Linked DNA regions of Homo sapiens: all the other regions are linked to region 1. Evidence: promoter capture Hi-C in 16 types of primary human blood cells and fetal thymus (Javierre and others, 2016). All regions are on one chromosome and are shown on one strand. Each heading gives the region's core, a stretch centred on a gene start or on the middle of the fragment in contact. The rest is flanking DNA. Distances are from core to core; before and after follow the strand shown.

Region 1 (3,002 bases), core at 165-2,664:
CTTTGATGTCAACAGTGGTGACCCTTGGAGCTCAGCCTTTGCAAACAAGGCTGGTGAACAGGGAAGACTGCCTGACCTTCCCGGACAACCACGCCACCAGAGGCGGGGGATTTATAGACAGATCGTACAGGGCGATGACGTTGACAGTCAATCTGGCATCCAGTGAATTTCACCTCAAGTATCTGGACCCCAAAAGTGGGCCACATAGCTTCCCTCCCCACCACCTAACTATCCTCAGCCTAAGAAGCAGCCCCTGTGAAGGAGAGGCTGTAACCCCGTTCTGCCTCAAACTCAATGGACGGCTTTGGAGAAGTCAACTATAGGCTTTTTACATAGAAAAGACGTGGGTGTGGCAATGTGATAGAGGTGGGGGTGCGAGGTAAAGGCTTGTTCTGAGGCTGCGTTTACACGGGGGGCATGATGGAGATTTCATTTAGAGTTTATGCTCATCCGGAGGAAGGGGTCGGATGGAAGTGGAAAGCCCTCCAAGCCAGCCCTTGGCACTGCCACTGTCCCTTCTGGTCCTGGACCTCAGTATCCTCACGCGTAAGACACTGAGCTGGACAGCAGTTCTGAAGTTTGGAGATTCCGGGAGAATCAGGAGAGGAAGGCCACCGGCCCACCCCGCACCCTCAAGCTCGGGGGTCTTCACAGGGACTCACACGGGACAGGGCGCGGGAGCGCTGCCCGGGACCCTAACGGCCCTGGCGCCCTCGGGGGCCCCGGAGGACAGAGGGCTGCACCCCGGCGCGGAGGGCGGAAGGAAGCGCGTGGGCGCGCGGCCCCGGGCGGCGGGGGCTACTCACGGGTCCCCGCGGTCGGGCCCACGGCCGCGGCAGTGGATGGGGTTGAGCTCGTCCTGGGGGAAGGCGTGAGCCATGTAGTTGTCGTAGCCAAAGACGAACATGCCCCGTGCCAGGTCGCGCATCTGGGCACGCAGCTGCGGAGGGAAGGCGCCGCTGTAGCGCTTCTCGTACTCGTCCGGGCCGCGGCCCCGGCCGCCCAGCACGTAGCCCCAGTTGGCTGGGCCGCACATCCCCGGCCCAGGACGCCGCGGAGCCTTGCGCGGGCTCTGCGCTGCCCCGGTCCCCGGCGGCTGCAGCCACGACGGCCCGGATACCCCCCCAGGCCGGCCCACGGGCCCCGAGGTGGGCGACGCGGGGCCGTCGGGGCTCCTCAGACGCTGGAAGCCGAAGCTGAGCGGAAAGCGCTGGTAGAAGCCCATGCTGGGCCCCAGCCCGAAGACGAGCCACAATACTCCATGGAGGCCAAGCCGGAGGAGCACCAGCCCCAGGACGAGCGCTCGCCATTGCATGGTCGCGCGGGCGCCGCGGGCATTATTTTAAAGCGCGGGGGCCTCCCCGCCGACCACCGCACCCCGCGCTCGCCCCGTAGCCCGGCTCGCTTCCCCTTTAAGGAACTCCCCCGTGACGCACCAGGAACTAGCCCATCGTCCCCAACCCCCAGGCTCTCCGGCGGGCCGGCCAGGCCCCACGGTCGCCCGCCCAGTGGCCCGGGATTGGCCCGGCCTGGGCCCGGCCTCGCGGGGCGCGGCCCAGGACTCCCTCCCACGCAGTAGGCCGCCAGGACGTCCGCGACGCCCCGAGGCCCCGCCCCTCACCCGGGCCCCGCCCCAACTCCCAAGCCCCGCCCCCCTGGGCGGTCCGTAGCCCGATGGGCTGGCGTGGCGAGCAGGAGCCGCGCCGGCCCGCGAGGGAACTTCCAGCCAATGGGAGAGCGGCACGGCAGCGCCCGCCGGACGCTGGACACAGACGTGACCCCAGACCGCCTGGCCTTGGGTGGATCGGGTCTCTGGGCAGAGCGTGTGTCCGGCAGAGCTAGGACCGGAAAAAGCCACTCTAGGTCTAGGTTAGGAGTGATGACAGTTAAAAGATATATAAGGAAAAGAAGGAAAGGATCGTTTCTGTATAAAACGAGCTATTTTTGCATATCGAGCGCATAAGTTTTATAACTTAGGTGTCTGTTTATGGAGAGGGTGGGATACTACCTTTTAGCTCAAGGAGTGCACAAAACGGTATCATGAATTCTGCTCTTTTGATTCAAACACCCAACTTTGAAGAATCGCTCATGGTGCTTGTAAAACACGTATCCCCAGATCCCTCCCTAGACCTATCGAACAACTCCAACGGTCTCGGGAATGTGCGTGTAAGTACTCTTGGACAGTTCTTAGAAACTGGAAGTTTCAGGAAATACAAAGTTATGTTATATTGCTTTTGTCTCGGAAATAGGATTTTTTTAAAAGGGGGGGGCGGGTTGGGGGTGGGAATGAAGGCTCCCACCACCACCAAATTATTTACCAGATATATCTAAACATGTCTTCTCCTGTCCCTCCCATCCTACCATCTCTCCTGTGCACCCGCAATTAGTGACCTAACCTTTGAGGTGTGGGGTAGATTCCCAGTTAAATAACTTTACCCCTCTGTATCTACTTCCTATAATTAAGAAGATTGCAAATGTTAGCTCTAAAGGGCTATGGCTTTCACATAAAGATTCAATGGTTTAGGCGCTTATTTATTTTGCTTGCTGCATTTGGAGTTGGCTGTAAGTTTTGCCCTCCCTAAGTTTAGACCCTATGCCTGTTTCATCAGGGTTTCTGAAAAGCTTGGGAAGCAAGACCTGACTAGACCCCCAAATCTGATATTGGCTGAATGGCCGACCAATGGAGTGCATAAGAAGGTAAGTTGTCATGTGGCACTCTCATCACATTTTCAGGGTAGAGGACTTTCTGAAATACAGAGGAGGTGTAAGGGGAACTAAGAAAACACTTGATTACAGCACATGGTAGCTGGCACATAGGAAGGTCCTTACTGTTGGCTGAGCCTTGTTCTTTCCCAACATTGAGACATCGAGAGCAGCCCAAGCAGCAAAAAGATTACGAAGACAGCTTGAGCCAGGGTCTTTAGACTACACAGCTTCTGCTTTTTCCCCTCTGTGAAGGATGCCTAGGGACTGTGCTGGCAGCCCAGCTCCAGCCCTTGATC
Region 2 (3,002 bases), core at 331-2,830, 2.0 Mb after region 1:
CTGAACTACAGTTCATCGACAAACACCGCAAGAATGTGCATCAGTCGGGGATAAGTCAGGTTTCATAAACCACCCCAGTTATATGAAAAGAGAGCTTAATACAAAGAATTGCTAACTAGTTACAGAATTGTAACCAGGTAACTGAAAAGGCAAAAAGAGAACATTAAGGTAACATGGAGGTAATAATTGCAGGTCTAGAATATAAAGGGAAAGGTTGGCATTATTAAACTCAGAAGCTGGAAGCAGGGGCCTATTGAGCTGAAATTCAGTGCTCTGAGAAGGTGCTGGTCAGCTACAGCCAGGGTCTCTTGACAGGTTGAAAGGCTGGTTCTGCAAATGTTGGAAAAACTACATGCTGGATGTGATTGCTGCTACAGGAACACAATGACATTGGAGAAGTGGGACGAGCATGATGTTCCCAGGAGCAAGAAGCAGACAGGAAGGAGTGAGTCCCTTCTTTCTCCAGCCTTGTGGTTTCCCTCTAGTACCTCCTAGGGGAGCACAAAGCCAAATACCTCCCAGAGAGGTTGGAGCTAAGAGACAGTAGGTTAATTACTGGCAAGAGATCAAAAAGGCAAACCAATGAGTGGGAGAAGATGCACAACAAACAACGGACTTGGCTCTAGATTTGAGTGATATATAGCAGGTAACAATAGTGTAACCAAAATGTGGGTTAGTTGCTTATCACTTGCAGAGTTCAATTAACAAGAGTGAGGTCTGGTATAAAGAAAGTGATTTATTTCCAAAGCTAGCTTAGAGGATGAAGCACAGGCATCCCACCTTTAAATGTACCGCTTCCCTCTTGGAGAAGAAAGTGAGCACTTTTAAAAGACAGGGGAGAAAGTGAGCAAGGGCAATGGTCCTCATACTAGCTTATCTACCACGCAGTAGAGCTGGTGACTGCTGGTGTTTTCCTGGGCAAGCTGTTATCTCTCAAGACAACTTCCTGGAGGGTGAGAGTTCCCTAGCAAACATGCTGTGGTTTGTAAATTAACTGTTAAGAGTTCTGTCTTAGAGCACACAGTTACGTGAACTTACCCAGTAAGAGATGTCTGAAGGAGAGGTAAAAGCCTATATAGTTCCATTTCTGAAGGGCTAAATAGGATGTGGGGAACCAGGAGAACAATAAGAGAGAAAAACCACCTCTTAGAAAAATGGGGGTACTGGGTTACAATTGCTAGGCTTTGAGATAGTGCTTACCACGTGCCAGCTCTGTTCTAAGGCTTCACCATGTTATTATAATTCATCTCACAAAGGCCCTTTAAGAGTAAATTATCTTCATTCCCACTTGAAAGATGAGGAAACAGAGGCAAGAGAGTTTAAGTAAACTGCCCAAAGTCTTACAGCCAGGAACTGCCAGATAGAATAAAATTCAGATAGATTTAATTCATTTTTGTCTTCATACTCAAATTCAAAAATAGGATTTACTGTTAAAACAGCTATAAAAAAATTATAGTAAATGAGACATGAAAAGTAGTAGCAGGTCTCCTGACTTAAGGGAACTTTTACAGTAATCAATAATTTCTAGTCATAAAGATATGGCTCATAAAAATGTGGCCGATGGCATCAAAATCTTTTATCTTTTACCTTCTAGAAAATTCTTATCTGCTTTTAGTTGGTCTTTCAAGAATTCTTGTCACTATAGTGAAAAAACATAGATTTTAGGGATGTGGGTTGTTTAAAATTATGTTTACTGACTGTTGATCTGCTTTCTGCACTTTGTTCTTGCAGATGATAATTGTCTGGGTGAGAATAGTTCTTCTTTGCCTTCTCTGGAATCAAAACTTAGGCTCAAACTGCTCCCAAAGCAGTAACTCATAGGAAAACTCCAGATTATTCATTGCCTGTGCATGATTGTATGAATGTAACTGAACTGCCTACAGGCCCAGTAATTTCACTTTTCTCACCTGTGGATGCAGCCTACACATGCTGATCGGTCAGAGATTTGGAGAAAATAGAATTCATTGATTTATTTATGCTTGCTCTGAAGTGTAGGGTAAGCTGAAAACCTGACTTTCTTTAAAAGGCAAGTCAGTGTTGGCAGTCTTCTAGAATTTGAGTGGGGAACTAAGGCTTATTGGGCCCCCTCTGTGTCTCAAGCACTGTGTGGCAAGTAATGCCACTGCCTCCTTATTGGTGTCTCCTAGTCCACACTTGTCCCGATTCTTCTGTTCCTCCACCCTGCAGCCAAATACTGATTTCCAAATGCAAAGCTAATCATAAGATTCTGCTTTGGGGAGGGTGAAAATTCTTAATACGGTCCACAGGAGCTAATTTTCTTGTAAACTGCAACCTCAACCTCCTGGGCTCAAGCAATCCTCCTGCCTCAGCCTCCCAAGTAGCTGGTACTACGGGTGCATGCCACCATATCTGGCTAATTTATTTTTAATAGAGACAAAGTCTCACTGTGTTGCCTAAGCTGGTCCCAAACCCCCAAACTCAAGCGATTTTCCTGCCTTGCTCTCCCGAATTGCTGGAAGTGCTGGGATTGCAGATGTGAGCCACTGTGTCCAGCCCTGCATCCTTCTAATAGGGACCCCTGAGATTAGATTGAACCCATCTAGATATTTCAGGAAAAATTCTCCATCTCAAAATCCTCAACTTAACACATCTGCAAAGCCTCTTTTGCCATGTAAAGTGATGTATTCACAGGGATGTAGATTTCTTCAGGGGACCATTATTCAGGTTGCCCAAACCCTACCTCATCATTCATTCTTCCCTTCTATTTCTAGTGAAGAAATGCCTCTTGCATTTGCCAAGGCTTACATCATAACTTTCCCATGTTCTGTCCTTTACCTCCTCCCACACAGTGTGCTCCTCCTCTCAGCAACTAATTCCCCTCATTGTCTTCTAATGGAGTTATCAAGTTCTCTGAATTTGCATTCCCAGCTCTGCTACTTTGATGCTGTTAAGTAGTCACAGAGCTTTGACTCTCTGGTTGCCTTTAAGTTGCCTTACAGATAACAACTATCTGTAAGGCAGATATTTGGGACTATCTGGAG
Region 3 (3,002 bases), core at 239-2,738, 1.5 Mb before region 1:
CTGTCTACCTTGTTCACACATATAAAAAGTACTCAGAAGATAGCCTGACACAGAGTGGACCTAAATAAATATTGTGTAAATGAATCTTATACAAAGCAGCCAACAGCTTCATATATTGCTTGAGCATTTTCCATGAGGCTGTGTTCCCTGTCTCAAAAGGCATGTCATTCCACCGATGCCCTACTTTAAAAAAGAAAAAAGCTTTCCTTATATGACTTCAAGGAGTAAGAAGTGATGTGGCGAAGCCAGTAAGAAATGCAACTGTAACTCTGCATGTGCAGGTGCTATCTAATTTATCAATGAAGCGTTTCTTTCATCTTGGTACACATTCCTCATTGTCCCCATTTTGCTAAGTAGAAACCTCAAGCAATCACTCAGAAGACTAAACACCAAAGAGATTAAGAATTAAAGCATGAGTTCTCTGAGAGCAAGATCCGGGATGTGTATTCTAGGTCAATGACTGAAACTCAAACTCAAGACTGAAAAGATGACTGAGAAAACTTTCTATTTCCCCAATGTTAGAAATAAACCTTGACATCTTATTGGCTTAATAAAATTAACATTTCCTTCTGGTCACATAAATGTAGTTTTAGAACAGATGGTCTCCTTCCATCTTGTAGCTCTGAAACGTCTCTTTTTCATCTGTAAAACGATGGGGTTGATGATATGGGTATCTTTTGACTTCTTCCCCAGCATCCATTTTCCCCACTTCTTTTAGCATTGTGAATTTCCATTTGTAGAGAAACCATATGGTCTGGGTAGTATTGGCTGTACTGCCCAAAAAAAGAATGGACTCCGTGTGGCTAAAGTTAATCAGTGCATGCCGTCTTCTCATGATGGGAGTCATAAAGACTCCAAAAATGAGGCACATACTATAAACGGAAGAATAAACTAAGGGAAAGTGATGCTGGCCTTCATGAGCTTTTTGAACCACTAGATCAAGCCTCATCTGAAGCATGACATATATTTGAACTATTACTTTACAGAGATAATCAATTTCTTTTTTGCTTAAGCAAGTTTGAGCAGTGTTTTCTGTTGCTTGTAGCAGAAAGAATTCTGATACAGATGATAGAACTGATATAACCTCTGAAGTTCCTTTCAGCCGTAGAGCATTGAGCCTCCATTTTTGTTTTCTGATTGAGGATTATTTGGAATTAAACACAAAATAAATTCAAAAGGGCTGCCAGAGACAGATCAAGAGTACTCCAGAGAGATATGGCCAAGGTGAAGAAACCTTGGCAGAAAGCCTCTCTTAAGGCATATTCATCTGAGGAGAACTGATTTATGTTAGGCTCATGTCTGCAGTATTTTACAACTGTAATGGCCAGTAAATAAAAAGAAATTTTTTCTGTCAGCTTACCACCTCTCTTTTCATGAGTGGAAGAAGTTGAAGTGCTCCATCTTCTAAAAATTATATGAAGGTCAACTAGGACTCCCATTCTATCTTCCGCCTGGAGGAAAATGATTTTGCATTTTCAAAGTGTAATGTGGCATCATGTTACTATCTCTAGAATCAGTAACGCCTATGTTTTTAATAAATTCAAAAATACACTTAGGCTGTACTTCACAATGATGTTTGCATTTCAAATGCAAAGATTAAAATGTATTATATATTTGATTGCATTGTATTATACAACTTGTGGATAGTAGGCACCTTCTTTCTGTGTTCTTGGTTATTAATAACACTAGAGCGCAAAACTTCAGAAAACACTGTGAAAAATATACGTGTGTGTGTGTATACACACACACACACACACACATATATATATGGGATATTTCTTTTTCTCATTTTAGATGCAGACTTTTAATTTTTTTAGTTAAAAAGAAGATCACAGCTAGCTAATGATCAGGTCTCTTCAAAGCTGATCATTAGCTAGCTGCCTGCATTCAATTTATATTTTTTGAATTGAATAAAATTGAATTCTGGTTACTAAGTTATTTCTTTTAGTTCACAAAGAATTATCTGAAAACCTTGAAAAGGTAACACATGGGATAGTGCAATGTATTACTGTGGCGTGTGGTGCTTAAGAATAATTCTGAAGCCTGTTTTCAATTTCTCATTCTATCCCTTCCTTACTAGCCGTATGACTGAAGACAAGCCGTTTCTTTCCTCCGTGTCACATTTACTCTATTTCTAAAGTAGGGATGATAATAATAATAGTAGAAAGGGTTATTTTGAGGACAAAATTTGTGTTAATATGTATAAATACTTAGATCAGAAACTGGTACAAGTATTGCTATTTTGGTTCCTGATACCACATTTCCATTTGTGGTAGGTTTTTATGAATTTACTTCAGTTTGATAAAATACAATTGTGGAAAAAAAAAACCTAAGTGAAGACTCATACAGTAGTATGTAGAAATGAAAAAAAAAAAAAAAAATCATGTGCTGTATTGTCCCAAAAGGAAATAACAGAAAGAATGAAGGGGAAGCAGAATTTGAAGAGCAAATATTAAATACGGACATTTGTGTATCTTCTTTAGATAAATATCTTCTGGCCAGGCGTGGCGGCTCATGCCTGTAATCCCAACACTCTGGGAGGCCGAGTCGAGTGGATCACTTGAGGTCAGGAATTCGAGATAAATATCTGTTCATATTGTTTGCCCACTTTTTAATGGGATTATTTGTTTTTCTTTTTTCCTTTCTGATTTGTTTGAGCTCCTTGTAGATCCTAGATATATTAGTCTTTTGTCAGAAGTACAGTTTGCAAATATTTTCTCCCATCCTGTAGGTTACCTGTTTGTTGAATATTTCTTTTGCTGTACAGAAGCTTTTTAGCTTAAACAGGTCCCATTCATTTGTTTTTGTTTATGTTCCATTTGCTTTTGGGGTCTTATTCATAAATTCTTTGTCTAGGCCAATGTCCAGAAGAGTTTTTCCTAAGTTTTCTTCTAGAATTTCTATGGTTTGCAGCCTTGGACTTAAATCTTAATCCATCTTGACTTAATTTTTGTATATAGTGAGAGATGAGATACTACTTTACCCGACCCAGAATGGCCATT

Evidence for each region. Contacts are between HindIII fragments. The CHiCAGO score rates a contact against its expected background, and 5 or more counts as called.
Region 2: a fragment that was not itself captured here is called in contact with the fragment with the promoter of EDEM1 in region 1 in 1 of 17 cell types (non-activated CD4 T cells); the score reaches 6.5 in non-activated CD4 T cells.
Region 3: a contact is called between a fragment that was not itself captured here and the fragment with the promoter of EDEM1 in region 1, in 1 of 17 cell types (fetal thymus). The highest score is 10.1, in fetal thymus.

What each region holds. Positions count from the first base shown.
Region 1 is chr3:5,186,119-5,189,120 of GRCh38, reverse strand. EDEM1 (ER degradation enhancing alpha-mannosidase like protein 1) reads right to left here and starts at 1,414. Exons shown (of 12, transcript NM_014674.3): 1 at 807-1,414. The coding sequence starts at 1,315. RefSeq lists enhancers at 426-475, 2,897-2,956 and silencers at 626-915, 966-1,135, 1,376-1,785. The HindIII fragment of the contact is 7,598 bases long and covers 1-2,624 here.
Region 2 is chr3:3,190,062-3,193,063 of GRCh38, reverse strand. No RefSeq gene overlaps it. Among named protein-coding and RNA genes, the nearest start is that of CRBN, 12 kb to the right of the region's middle. The HindIII fragment of the contact is 5,139 bases long and covers 1-3,002 here.
Region 3 is chr3:6,708,902-6,711,903 of GRCh38, reverse strand. The region is part of intron 2 of GRM7-AS3 (GRM7 antisense RNA 3); the gene reads left to right. It overlaps LOC105376944 (a long non-coding RNA gene), which reads right to left. Exons shown (of 8, transcript NR_188695.1): 3 at 1,361-1,451. Among named protein-coding and RNA genes, the nearest start is that of GRM7-AS3, 95 kb to the left of the region's middle. The HindIII fragment of the contact is 2,569 bases long and covers 204-2,772 here.